2 separate regions of the Homo sapiens genome follow, and region 1 is linked to region 2. The links are contacts of gene promoters, found by promoter capture Hi-C in blood cells and fetal thymus (Javierre and others, 2016). All regions are on one chromosome and are shown on one strand. The core of a region is centred on a gene start or on the middle of the fragment in contact, and the rest is flanking DNA. Distances in the headings are between cores, read along the strand shown. Region 1 overlaps SPECC1L (sperm antigen with calponin homology and coiled-coil domains 1 like). Region 2 holds the start of ADORA2A-AS1 (ADORA2A antisense RNA 1).

What was found. The method cuts DNA at HindIII sites, captures the fragments that hold promoters and counts their contacts. A CHiCAGO score of 5 or more calls a contact.
Region 1: a fragment that was not itself captured here is called in contact with the fragment with the promoter of ADORA2A-AS1 in region 2 in 2 of 17 cell types (monocytes and naive CD8 T cells); the score reaches 6.0 in monocytes.

Annotation. Positions count from the first base shown.
Region 1 is chr22:24,370,247-24,376,481 of GRCh38, reverse strand. All of the region lies in intron 14 of SPECC1L (sperm antigen with calponin homology and coiled-coil domains 1 like), which reads right to left. The region is part of intron 15 of SPECC1L-ADORA2A (SPECC1L-ADORA2A readthrough (NMD candidate)); the gene reads right to left. Among named protein-coding and RNA genes, the nearest start is that of ADORA2A, 54 kb to the left of the region's middle. The HindIII fragment of the contact is 8,316 bases long and covers 456-6,235 here.
Region 2 is chr22:24,491,979-24,498,613 of GRCh38, reverse strand. It overlaps ADORA2A-AS1 (ADORA2A antisense RNA 1), which reads left to right and starts at 3,540. Exons shown (of 7, transcript NR_028484.3): 1 at 3,540-3,924. UPB1 (beta-ureidopropionase 1) reads right to left here and starts at 3,282. Exons shown (of 10, transcript NM_016327.3): 1 at 3,107-3,282. The coding sequence starts at 3,210. The HindIII fragment of the contact is 15,084 bases long and covers 2,599-6,635 here.

The sequences.
Region 1 (6,235 bases), core at 3,364-5,863, 120 kb after region 2:
ATTCTTTTTGATGCTGCTATAAATGGAATGTTTTAATTTACTGTTACTATATGTAAATGCAAGTGAGTTTTGTATACTGATCTTGCATCTTCAACTTTTCTGGATTTACTAGTTCCAACAGTTTTTATGTGAATTCTTAAAGGTTTTCTAGATATAAGCTGGATGTGATGGCCTACACCTGTAGTCCCAGCTACTCACGATGTTGGAAGTGGGAGGACCACTTGAGCCCAGAAGTCTGAACCTAGACTGGGCAACATAGTGAGACCCTATCTCTTAAAAAAATCTAGACATAAATCACATCATCTGCAAATAGAGATCATTTTACTTTTTTTCCTATCTGGATGCCTTTTCTTTCCTTTTTTCTTGTCTGTCTTAGCTAGAACTTGCAGAAAAATGTTGAATAGAAATGGTGATAAACGACATTCTTTCTTGTTCCTGATCTTAAGGGGAAAGCTTTCAGTCTTCACCATTAAGTATAATGTTAAAACTGTGGGTTTTTTTTGTTTTTTTTGTTTGTTTGTTTGTTTGTTTTGAGACAGAGTCTCACTCTGTCACCCAGGCTGGAGTGCAGTGGTGTGTTATCAGCTCACTGCAACCTCCACCTCGCAGGTTCAAGTCATTCTCATGTCTCAGCCTCCCAAGTAGCTGGCATTACAGGTGTGTGCCACTACACCTGGCTAGTTTTTGTATTAGTAAAGATGGAGTTTTGCATGTTGCCTAGGCTGGTCTTGAACTCCTGGCCTCAACTGATCACCCGCCTTGGCCTCCCAAAGTACTGGGATTACAGGCATAAGCCACTGTGCCCAGCCAACTGTGGGTTTTCATAGGTACCCTTTATTAGATTGAGAAAATTACCTTTTATTCCTAGTTTTTAAAATCATAAATGGCTGCTGGATTTTACCAAATGCTTTTACAGTGTCTAGTGAGATGATCATGCGGTTTTTTCCCCTTTATTCTAATAATATGGTATTACAGTATTAATTCATTTTCATATGTTGAACCAACCTTGCATTGCTGGGATAAAGAACACTTGGTCAGGGTGTATAATCCTCTTTAATATACTGCTGGATATTGTCATTATTTTGTCAAGGGCTTTTACAGTTTTCTTTTTTTGTAATATCTTTTTCCGTTTTTGGTATGAGAGTAATGATGGCCTCACAGAATGAGTTAGGAAGTAATATTTTCTTTGATTTTTGGAAGAGTTTGAGAAGTATTGCTATTAATTCCTCTTTTAAAATTTGGAAGAATTAACCAGTAAAGTAATCTGGTCCTGGGCTTCTCTTTGCTGGAAGTATTTTGATTACTAACTCAATCTCATTAGTTGTTATTTGTCTCTCCAGATGTTCTTGCTTCTTGAGTCCATTTTGATAGTTAATGTTTCTAGGAATTTGTCCATATCATCTAAGTTATCCAATTTTTGGCATTCATTGTTCACAGTATTCCATTTTAATCCTTTTTATTTCTTAAGGTCATTAGTAACGTCCCTTTATTCCTGATTTTGGTAACTTTAGTCTTCGTTTTCTTTTTATCTATCTACTTAGAGGTTTGTCAATTTGTTTATCTTTTCAAAGAACCCATTTTTTTTTCATTGATCTTCTCTATTGTTTTTCTATTTTCTATTTTATTTATTTTGGCTCTAATCTTTATTTCCTTCCTTCTGCTTATTTTGGGTTTAGCTTATCTTTTTTCTACTTCCTTTTTTTTTAAATTATACTTTAAGTTTTAGGGTACATGTGCACAAGGTGCAGGTTAGTTACATATGTATACATGTGCCATGTTGGTGTGCTGCACCCATCAACTCGTCATTTAACATTAGGTATATCTCCTAATGCTATCCCTCCCCCCTCCCCCCACCCCACAACAGGCCCCTGTGTGTTATGTTCCCCTTCCTGTGTCCATGTGTTCTCATTGTTCAATTCCCACCTATGAGTGAGAACATGCAGTGTTTGTTTTTTTTTGTCCTTGCGATAGTTTGCTGAGAATGATGGTTTCCAGCTTCATCCGTGTCCCTACAAAGGACATGAACTCATCATTTTTTATGGCTGCATAGTATTCCATGGTGTATATGTGCCACATTTTCTTAATCCAGTCTATCATTCTTGGGCATTTGGCTTGGTTCCAAGTCTTTGCTATTGTGAATAGTGCTGCAATAAACATACGTGTGCATGTGTCTTTATAGCAGCATGATTTATAATCCTTTGGGTATATACCCAGTAATGGGATGGCTGGGTCAAATGGTATTTCTAGTTCTAGATCCCTGAGGAATCGCCACACTGACTTTCACAATGGTTGAACTAGTTTACAGTCCCACCAACAGTGTAAAAGTGTTCCTATTTCTCCACATCCTCTCCAGCACCTGTTGTTTCCTGACTTTTTAATGATCGCCATTCTAACTGGTGTGAGATGGTATCTCATTGTGGTTTTGATTTGCATTTCTCTGATGGCCAGTGATAATGAGCATTTTTTCATGTGTCTTTTGGCTGCATAAATGTCTTCTTTTGAGAAGTGTCTGTTCATATCCTTCGCCCACTTGTTGATGGGATTTTTTTTTTCTTGTATATTTGTTTGAGTTCATTGTAGATTCTGGATATTAGCCCTTTGTCACATGAGTAGATTGCGAAAATTTTCTCCCATTCTGTAGGTTGCCTGTTCACTCTGATGGTAGTTTCTTTTGCTGTGCAGAAGCTCTTTAGTTTAATTAGATCCCATTTGTCAATTTTCGCTTTTGTTGCCATTGCTTTTGGTGTTTTAAACATGAAGTCCTTGCCCATGCCTATGTCCTGAATGGTATTGCCTAGGTTTTCTTCTAGGGTTTTTATGGTTTTAGGTCTAACATTTAAGTCTTTAATCCATCTTGAATTAATTTTTGCATAAAGTGTAAGGAAGGGATGCAGTTTCAGCTTTCTACATATGGCTAGCCAGTTTTCCCAGCACCATTTATTAAATAGGGAATCCTTTCCCCATTTCTTGTTTTTGTCAGGTCTGTCAAAGATCAGATGGTTGTAGATATGCAGCATTATTTCTGAGGGCTCTGTTCTGTTCCATTGGTCTATATCTCTATTTTGGTACCAGTACCATGCTGTTTTGGTTACTGTAGCCTTGTAGTATAGTTTGAAGTCAGGTAGTGTGATGCCTCCAGCTTTGTTCTTTTGGCTTAGGATTGACTTGGCAATGCAGGCCTTTTTTGGTTCCATATGAACTTTAAAGTAGTTTTTTCCAATTCTGTGAAGAAAGTCATTGGTAGCTTGATGGGGATGGCACTGAATCTATAAATTACCTTGGGCAGTATGGCCATTTTCATGATATTGATTCTTCCTACCCATGAGCATGGAACGTTCTTCCATTTGTTTGTATCCTCTTTTATTTCATTGAGCAGTGGTTTGTAGTTCTCCTTGAAGAGGTCCTTCATGTCCCTTATAAGTTGCATTCCTAGGTATTTTATTCTCTTTGAAGCAATTGTGAATGGGAGTTCACTCATGATTTGGCTCTCAGTTTGTCTGATATTGGTGTATAAGAATGCTTGTGATTTTTGCACATTGATTTTGTATCCTGAGACTTTGCTGAAGTTGCCTATCAGCTTAAGGAGATTCTGGGCTGAGATGATGGAGTTTTCTAGATATATAATCATGTCATCTGCAAACAGGGACAATTTGACTTCCTCTTTTCCTAACTGAATACTCTTTATTTCTTTCTCCTGCCTGACTGCCCTGGCCAGAACTTCCAACACTATGTTGAATAGGAGTGGTGAGAGAGGGCATCCCTGTCTTGTGCCAGTTTTCAAAGGGAACGCTTCCAGTTTTTACCCATTCAGTATGATATTGGCTGTGGGTTTGCCATAGATAGCTCTTATTATTTTGAGATACGTCCCATCAATACCTAATTTATTGAGAGTTTTTAGCATGAAGTGTTGTTGAATTTTGTCAAAGGCCTTTTCTGCATCTATTGAGATAATCATATGGTTTTTGTCACTGGTTCTGTTTATATGCTGGATTACATTTATTGATTTGCGTATGTTGAACCAGCCTTGCATCCCAGGGATGAAGCCCACATGATCATGGTGGATCCAGCAGCAGCTGGATTTCGTTTGCCAGTATTTTATTGAGGATTTTTGCATCAATGTTCATCAGGGATATTGATCTAAAATTCTCTTTTTTTGTTGTGTCTCTGCCAGGCTTTGGTATCAGGATGATGCTGGCCTCATAAAACGAGTTAGGGAGTATTCCCTCTTTTTCTATTGATTGGAATAATTTCGGAATGAATGGTACCAGCTCCTCCTTGTACCTCTGGTAGAATTCGGCCGTGAATCCATCTGGTCTTGGACTTTTTTTGGTTGGTAAGCTATTAATTATTGCCTCAATTTCAGAGCCTGTTATTGGTCTACTTCCTTAAGGAAGAAACTTAGATTACTGCTTTGAGATCTTTCCTCTTTGTAAAGGTGGGTGTTTATAAATTTCCCTTTGAGACCGGGCGCGGTGGCTCATGCTTGTAATCCCAGCAGTTTCGGAGGCTGAGGCAGGCAGATTACCTGAGGTAAGGAATTCAAGACCAGCCTGGCCAACATGGCGAAACCTCGTCTCTACTAAAATACAAAAATTAGCTGGGCATGATAGCACACGTTTGTAATCCCAGCTACTTGAGAGGCTGAGGCAGAAGAATCACTTGAGCCCGGGAGCCGGAGCCTGCCGTGAACCAAGGTCGCACCACTGCAGTCCAGCCTGGGTGACAGAATGAGACTCTGTCTCTCAATCGATCAATCAATCAATCAATCAATCAATGTCAATCCCCTTGAGAACTGCTTTCGCTGCCTCCCATAAATTTTGGTATGCTGCGTTCATTTTTGTTCTCAGAGCATTTTCTAATTTCCCTTGTGATTAATTTTTTGACCCACTGGTTATTTAGAGTGTGTGCTTTAATTTTCACTTATTTTCCAATTTTCCTTCAGCTACTAATTTCTAATCTTTCATTGTGATCAGAAAAAAATGAAGAAAATTTAAATGCTTTCCATCTTTTTATTTATTTCATTTTAATCTTTGTAGAGATAGGGCCTCCCGATGCTGCCCAGGCTGGTCTCAAACTACTGGGCTCAAGTGATCCTCTCATCTTGGCCTCACAAAATACTGGGACTACAGGCACGAGCCACCACATCTGGCCAATTTCAGTCTTTTTAAATTTAATGAGACTAGTTTTATGACCTAACATATGGCCTAACCTGCAATCTTCCATGTGCACCTGAGAGAAGAATGTGTATTCTGCTATTATTGGGTGCAGTGTTGTATAATGTCTTTAGGTCTGGTTGGTATACAGTACTATTCAAGTCTTCTATTCCCTTGCTGGTTTTCTATCTGGTCTTATCTCAATCTTTCTTTTTTTTCTTTTTGCAGTGGAGTTTTATTATCATGGTAAATATACATAAAAAATCATTTTAACCATCTTTAATTATACGGTTCAGTGGCATTAAGTATACTCATATGATTGTGCTACCATCACCACCATCCATCTCCAGTACTTTTTTCATTTTGTAAAACTAAACTGTGTACCCACCCCCTTTCTTTTTTCCCTCCCCCAGCCCCTGGCAACCATCATTCTACTTTTTGTCTCTATAAATATTACTAACTCTAGGTATTCCATATAATTAGAATCATGTAGTATTAGCCCTTTTGTATATGGCTTGTTTCATTTAGCACAATGTCTTCAGTGTGCATCGTGTTGTAGCATGTGTAAGAATTTCCTTCCTTTTTAAGGAAGAATGGTATTCCATTGTATTATATACCACAGGTTGTTTATCCATTCTTCTATCGACAGACACTTGGGTTGCTTCCACTTTTTGGCTACTGTGAATAACACTGCCACAAAAATGGGTGTGCCTAAAATATTTCTCCAAGTCTCTGCTTTCCTAGAAGTGGAATTTTCCAGAAGTGGAACTGCCAGATCATATGGTAATTCTGTTTACTTTTTTGAGGAACTGCCATACTATTTTCCACAGCAGTTACAACATTTTATAGGTCCCCTCCAACAAAACATAAGCCTGCCCATTTCTCCACATCTTTGCCAACACTACTTATCTCCTTTGTTAGCCAGTGGAAGCTGGCATGGAGATTCTTTTTTTAAATTATTTTCTCTTCTCTTTTTTACTTGCCACTGGCTTGAAGCTGAGACATGGAGAGTCTTAGTAAATCCTCAATGATTATCATGACTTTTCTGTATGTCCACTGCAATATGCTTGGCTCTTTAATCT
Region 2 (6,635 bases), core at 2,291-4,790:
CCCTGAGGCTGCCCACCTCCTTATCCCCAGCTCCCTGCGAGCTCATTCTAAGCCAAGGTAATACAGGAGAGGCCGCTCCACCCTCCAGGACAGCCACCTTTGGGGCTCTACCTCCTCCCAGCCACTCCTGTCTACTATCTGGGCAGTACCTGTAAGGCCTCTCTGCCCTCCCATTATCAAAGGCGGTGCATTACCACATCCTACACAGCTTCATCTTGGAGAACCTAACCAATCCTCAAGCCATACCCTGTGTAGACGCAGTCAATGACCATGTGCTGTGCCCACCGAAAGGCCTGGTACAGGAGATGCAGTGGAACACTGAGACAGACTGAATGCTTATGTCTGCCCCAAATTCATATGTTGAAATCCTAATCTCCAATGTGATAGGGCTCTTTCAGAGGTGATTAGGTCATGAGGGTAGAGTCCTTTTAAAAGACCAAGAGGGCATGCTTGCTTCCTGCACCATGTAAGAACACAGTGAGAAGGCACCATCAAAAACCAGAAAGTGGGCCCTCAACAGACACCAGATCTGCTGTGGCACCTTGATCTTGGACTTCATAGCATTCAGAACTGTGAGGAATAAATTCATGTGGTTTAAGATGGGGAAAGAGACCGCAGCCAGATGTTGGTTACAGCCAGGGTTGCACACTCAGACAAGAGCTCTGCCACCTGACTTCTTCCTGGTGTGAGACCACAGGCTGAGGACAGTGTTCACTAGGACGTTCCCAAAGGGCTGTCCAGCTACCAGGCCCACAGACCTTTGGGGAAACAGACACACAGACCCTTCTCCTTTTTCTCCCTGTGATTGCCCACAAGTACAGGGAAGTCTGGTATTCTGTTATAGTAGCCCAAAAGTACTAAAACATCAATCAGCCACTGCCCAGGAGGACAAGACCAGCAAATGAGCCATAACCTCACAGACGGCCTCCTGCTGCCACTGCCTGCCCTGGTCCCTGTAGTTGGCTTTCAGACCCTCTACCCCTCACCCTGCTACTGAGGCCTCCCCACTCAGGGCTTCCCTTCAAACTTCAAGGAGTAAAGCCCTTCACTTCCCATCCTAGCCCCACCATGCCCTTCAGGGCCCCCACCTCTCCCACCCAGGGTCAGGCAGACCTTGCCAGAGGACACCAAGTTCCTGCCTCCTCAGCAACCTCTCACTTCTGGAACTTCATCTTTCCATGTCTGATGGCTCTTTACCACCAGCACTTTAAATCATTAAACTAGAGCTCTGTTACAAAAGAGACATGTGCTCATGGCGGGGGTGAATCAAATAGTGGGAAAGGGTATAAAATGAAACATACATTCCCCTTTCTACCCCACCCCTAGTCCCAAAACTCAGAGGCAACCCCTCTTAACAATGTTTTATGTCTCTTTCCTATTTTCCTACGTGTATGCATTACAAATACAATGGTATCATTCTGTATTTTCTGTTCTTCAACTTGCCTTTTTCACTTAATACACATAGCTTGGACATCTTTCTCCACTAGTACCTACAGACCTCCACATCCATCACTGAAGCTGTTAAAGAGTCTCTCCCGTTGAAAAACAGAAGGGAGATAGGGGGGAGAGAAGGTGAGGAAGAAAGAGAAAGAGGGACAGTGTTCCACATATGTCCATGTGTTTACTCACTTGCTGTCTCTCCCTGCTGCCTAGGGAGCTTCCACACATGCTTCCCCTCAGCTCAGGCCTTACCTCCTGGCCCCATCTCAGGAACTGCCAACAGCCTTATCATGGCTAAATCCAGCAGACTTCCTGCTGTCCTCACCCGCTAGACATTTCTGAGCCATCTGATGCTTCTTTCCTGTCCTGCCCCAGAGTCCTCACCTCCAGAATCTCCCACAAAGTCTCTTTCTCTGACCCCTTGAATATCCAGGTTTTCCAGCATTCTCTCCAGCGCCCTCTTTTGTACCTGCTCCTCCTTCACCTGGAATGACCATCTCCAGGGCAGCTCAACAAGCCCAGCCTCGCCCACCTGAGGCCCACCTCCACATAGCAAATAGCCCCTGAGTTATTTCCACCTGCAGACCCTGAAGCTACTGTAGCAGGTTGAGCTGTGTCTCCATCCTGACACCTGGAACCTGTCATTGTGATTTTATTTGGAAAAAGGGTCTTCACAGACGTAATTAAGGTCAGGATCTCAAGATAAGATCATCCGGGATTATCCAAGTAAGCTCCAAATCCAAAGACGTGTGTGTGTGTGTGTGTGTGTATGTGTGTGTGTGTGTGTGTGTGTGTGTGTGTTTGAGACAGGGCCTCACTCTGACTCCCAGGCTGGAGTGCAGAGGAGAGATTTTGGCTCACTGCAGCCTCGACCTCCCAAGCTCAAGTGATCCTCCCGCCTCAGCCTGCCATGTAGCTAGGACTACAGATGCATGCTACCATGCTTGGCTATTTTTTTAAATGCTTTATAGAGATGGGTGTCTCACTATGTTGCCCAGGCCGGTCTCGAACTCCTGAGTTCAAGCAATCTTCCAGCCCTGGCCTCCCAAAGTGCTGAGATTACAGGTGTGAGCCCGGCCAGGAAGTGTCTTTTTCAGCTTTGTGGACACAGTGTCCAGCAGTATACAGCCCTCAGAAAGTCCTGGTGATGCACAAGCTTGCAGGGAGTGGAAAAACCAGCGCCCATGGCTTGCCAGTGGGAAAGGTTCCCTCGCCAACTAAATGCAGACAGCCTCTATTTCCAAGGGTCAGCCAGAGGTCGGGTCACCGCAAGAAGGATGGTCTGGGGCCGGACAATCAGTACACCTGCTGGGTGCTCTGGTTGGAGACAGTGATCCAGCCAGACATCCAGAAGACAAGCCCGGCTCCGGGGAGGAGGGTTGGGATGGCCACAGAGAAAGCCCTGGAGAGTAAAATCCCGTCCTTTTCCTTCCGGTTCTGGGCAACGTGGGGGAGAAGAGATTTGTAAAGGTCACGCCAGGATTCTGCAACCCCCAAGGACCCCGGGGCCGTCCCATCAAGACCTACTATGGTCTCTGCCCGCCAACTCAGGACTTCTCACCGCCTCCCCTGAGCCCTTCAGACCCTGAGGCCCTCCCTGCCTGCTCCCCCAGACCCACACTCTGTGGCCCCAAGACCCCATTAGCTTAGCCTCTTGGCTGCGGACCTGAGTTCCTTGCCATAGAGAACGCGCTTCACTTCCTGCAAGTCGGGGAGCGGCAGGTGCTTCTCCAAGCATTCCTCCAGCGACTTCCACTCAGCGCCCGCCATGGCCACGGTCCGCCAGTGCTTGTGTCCGCGCACGAACTGCCTGCCCTTTGCCCGCAGTGGGAGGAGGTGCCCAGGCCCGGTCAGGCGCCCTTGCCTTTATCTCTTACTCTCGCTCCCAGACAGCTCAAGTGAGGACACGCCACTTCCTCGCGCAGCCAATCCGCCTTCCAGGGCTTCGCGGGTGGGACCGCCCCTGGCCTTTAGCGCTCCTTCGGCACGTGCCAGGACACGTTCCTCTTGCCGCCTCCGCAGCACACGGCCAATCAGCCTCCAGGGCCTCACGTGGGGAGGGGGCGAAAGGATCCGGCGCTTGCCCTTCGCCCCTTGCCCTTCGCCTCTCGGTTAGCAAGCGATGAGGCACGCCCCTCCACAGGCGGGACTGCGCGGAGTCGTCGCGCCTCGGCTGCGAGTCAGGACTGAGGCTGTCCCCCTCCCGCCTCCCTCAGGGGCCCTGGCGCGGGTGCCTCCAGGTTCCACCCCTCACCTGCCCCTTGGTGTCGGGCCGGGACCCTGGAGAGGTCGTGAGGGAGTCCTGGGCGCGGGCTCCGGGAGGCTGCGGCGCGGGTCTGAGGTAAACGGCCCGGCCGCTGCGGGCCCTTGCGGGGGCTGGTTCCAGCAGCAACCGCCGGGCAGGGCCCCTCCCGACCGCGACCTCCTGTCCGCACCGTAGGGCAGCCGGCCGGGCCAGCCTCCCTCACAGGACTACCGAGGAAGGTAAGGGAAGAGTTTCAGTGTCCCACGGGCACGCGGCGGCTGCACCTCTGTCGTCCGGAGCCTTTATGTCTGGGGAGTTTTAACCCCCGAGGGGCCAGGCTCGGAGTCCATGCCGCTACCTGGGTCGCGCGTTCCCACCCCCGGCTTTGGGGCCGCTGGAGCCGAAGGTCAGTTGCTCGCCTGCGGTTCCGTGCGCCTCGGTGGAGCTAATATTGTAAAATGCGGGGTCCCCGGGTGAGGGCGCGCCCCCTGCACCCTAGGGCCCCTTTTCAGCCCTGCCCTCTGCCGCGTGTGTGCAAATATGGGCACTTTCCTGCGGTAGGGTGCGCTTTAAACTGTCACTGAGATGGTAGGAGTGAGAGCCCCATTTGCTGTTACCGCGAATCCAGAGGGTGCCATCCCTTCAGGAGCAAAGAAGCGTCCTCTTTGGGGTCCTATTGAGAATTAGGGCAGTAAGGCCCGCTTACTTCGGCGGGCAGCCGGGTGAAGGAACCAGTCTGTAGAAATCCTATTCAGCCACTTGTAAACCTTGTGACCCCAGGAAAGTTTAACTTAGTCGCTGGAGGCTTCTGTTGCTTTATCTGTAAAATAGGAATGCAAAGATTACGCTGCGGGGTTGTTTAAAAGTCAGAAAAGGCCAGCACGGTGGCTCATGCCTGTAAACCCAGCACTTTGGGAGGCCTAGAAAGGGGTATTGTTTGAGGCCAGGAACTCCAGACCAGCCTGGGTAACACAGCAAGACCCTGTATCTACAAAATAATGTTTTACAAATTAGCCTATCATGGTGGTGCGCACCTGCTTCTTGGGAGGCAGAGGTGAGAGGATCGCTTGAGCCCAGGAGTTCGAGGCTCCCTAGCTATGATCTTAACACTGCACTTCAGCCTGGGCAACAGAGTGAGACGCAATCTCAAAGAAAAAAAAAAAAGAGGCAAGTAAAATGAGCACAAAGGGAGCTAATTTATATCTAGAATCAGCTACTAACATTAAAAATATTATACTTCAGGTATTTTGTTTCAGCTGCTAATTCACAAGTTTTGTTCCTTGTTTTGATAAATGTTAGCTGACGGTTTCTAGTATCTGATGGAGCTGCCTTCTCAAGAGTGCAAACTCTGAGGACTTTCTATGTGTAAGGCACTGCTAAGAGAGCCATATAAAGACAGATAAGACCTAGTACCTTTTCTTTGTGATTTAAAGTAAAGACGGCTGGGCACGTTGGCTCACACCTGTAATCCCAGCACTTTGGGAGGCCGAGGCGGGCAGATCACCTGTGGTCAGGAGTTCGAGACCAGCCTGACCAACATGGTGAAACCCCGTCTCTACTAAAAATACAAAAATTTGCCGGGCATGGTGGCGCATGCCTGTAATCCCAGCTACTCGGGAGGCTGAGGCAGGAGAATCGCTTGAACCCAGGAGGGGAGGCGGAGGTTGCAGCGAGCTGAGATCGTGCCATTGTACTCCAGCCTGGGCAACAAGAGCAAAACTCCGTCTCAAAAAAAAAAAAAAAAAAAAAAAAAGGAAAGACAAACTTGTAAATACAGCAGATTTAAATAATTTGAGATGAAAAAGATACTATGGAGTGCAAAGAGGTGATTTCTGGCTTAGAGAAATTGTTGGAGGTCTCATGGAAGAGGCTTCAAAGCCAACTCAAAATGCTTCAAACTGAATGAACTTTCACCTCCTTTCTCAAGCAGGCTCTTATCTTCTTTTGTTGTTGTTGTTGTTGTTGTTACAGAGTTTCGCTTTTGTCGCCCAGGCTGCAGTGCAATGGTGCGATTTTGGCTCACTGCAACCTCCGCCTCCCAGGTTCAAGCGATTCTCCTGCCTCAGCCTCCCGAGTAGCTGGGATTACAGGCGTGTGTCATCACACCCAGCCAATTTTTTGTATTTTTAGTAGAGATGGGGTTTCACCATGTTGGTCAGTCTGGTCTTGAACTCCTGACCTCAGGTGATCCGCCTGCCTCAGCCTCCTGAAGTGCTGGGATTACAGGCATGAGCCACCGCGCCCAGCCTCTTATCTTCTGCACTGTATTCCCTATTTCAGTAATGGCCTCACCACCCACTGATTTGCCAAGTTTTTGAGAGTCATCTGCAACTCCTCCATGTTCTTTCTTTCCTCAATACAATCAGGCATCAAGTTCTGCTAAATTTATCTCCTGGATTTTGTTCATATCCTTCCTCCTCCCTCCTCATGTCTGCCTCCTGTCATCTTTTGCTTGAATTGTTGCCAGTCTTGTAACTTGTCTCTCCACCTCCAATGTCTATCCTTAGTTGTCTTTCTAAAACTAGTATCTTACCATCCTTTGTACCCTCTCATTCAGTGTATCCCTACCTGGAATCACCTTTCATCCTTCATTTTGTGACCGCCTTCTCATCCTCCACCATGCAGTTGAAACATCACTTCTGTAAAGACTTCTCCAATTGTCCCAGAAAAAGTTAGGCTCCCCCAGGCCTTCATAGATAGTTCTCTTGTTACATTTATTAAACAGTATTGTGTAGTTATTTCTGTGCTGTCCTCAGAAAATGGACCGGATCTACTTTTGTATCCAGAGGACTTTAGCACTCAATAAATGATTATTGAAGGAATCAACTCTGGGATCATGGACAAATTCATTAAGGTGATAACACTGAGCTGGACCTCGAAGCAGTAGTAGAAGCTATTATTACTAGTTAAATTGTTTAGTTCATCTTTCCCTATTGTTCAGTGACAGGTC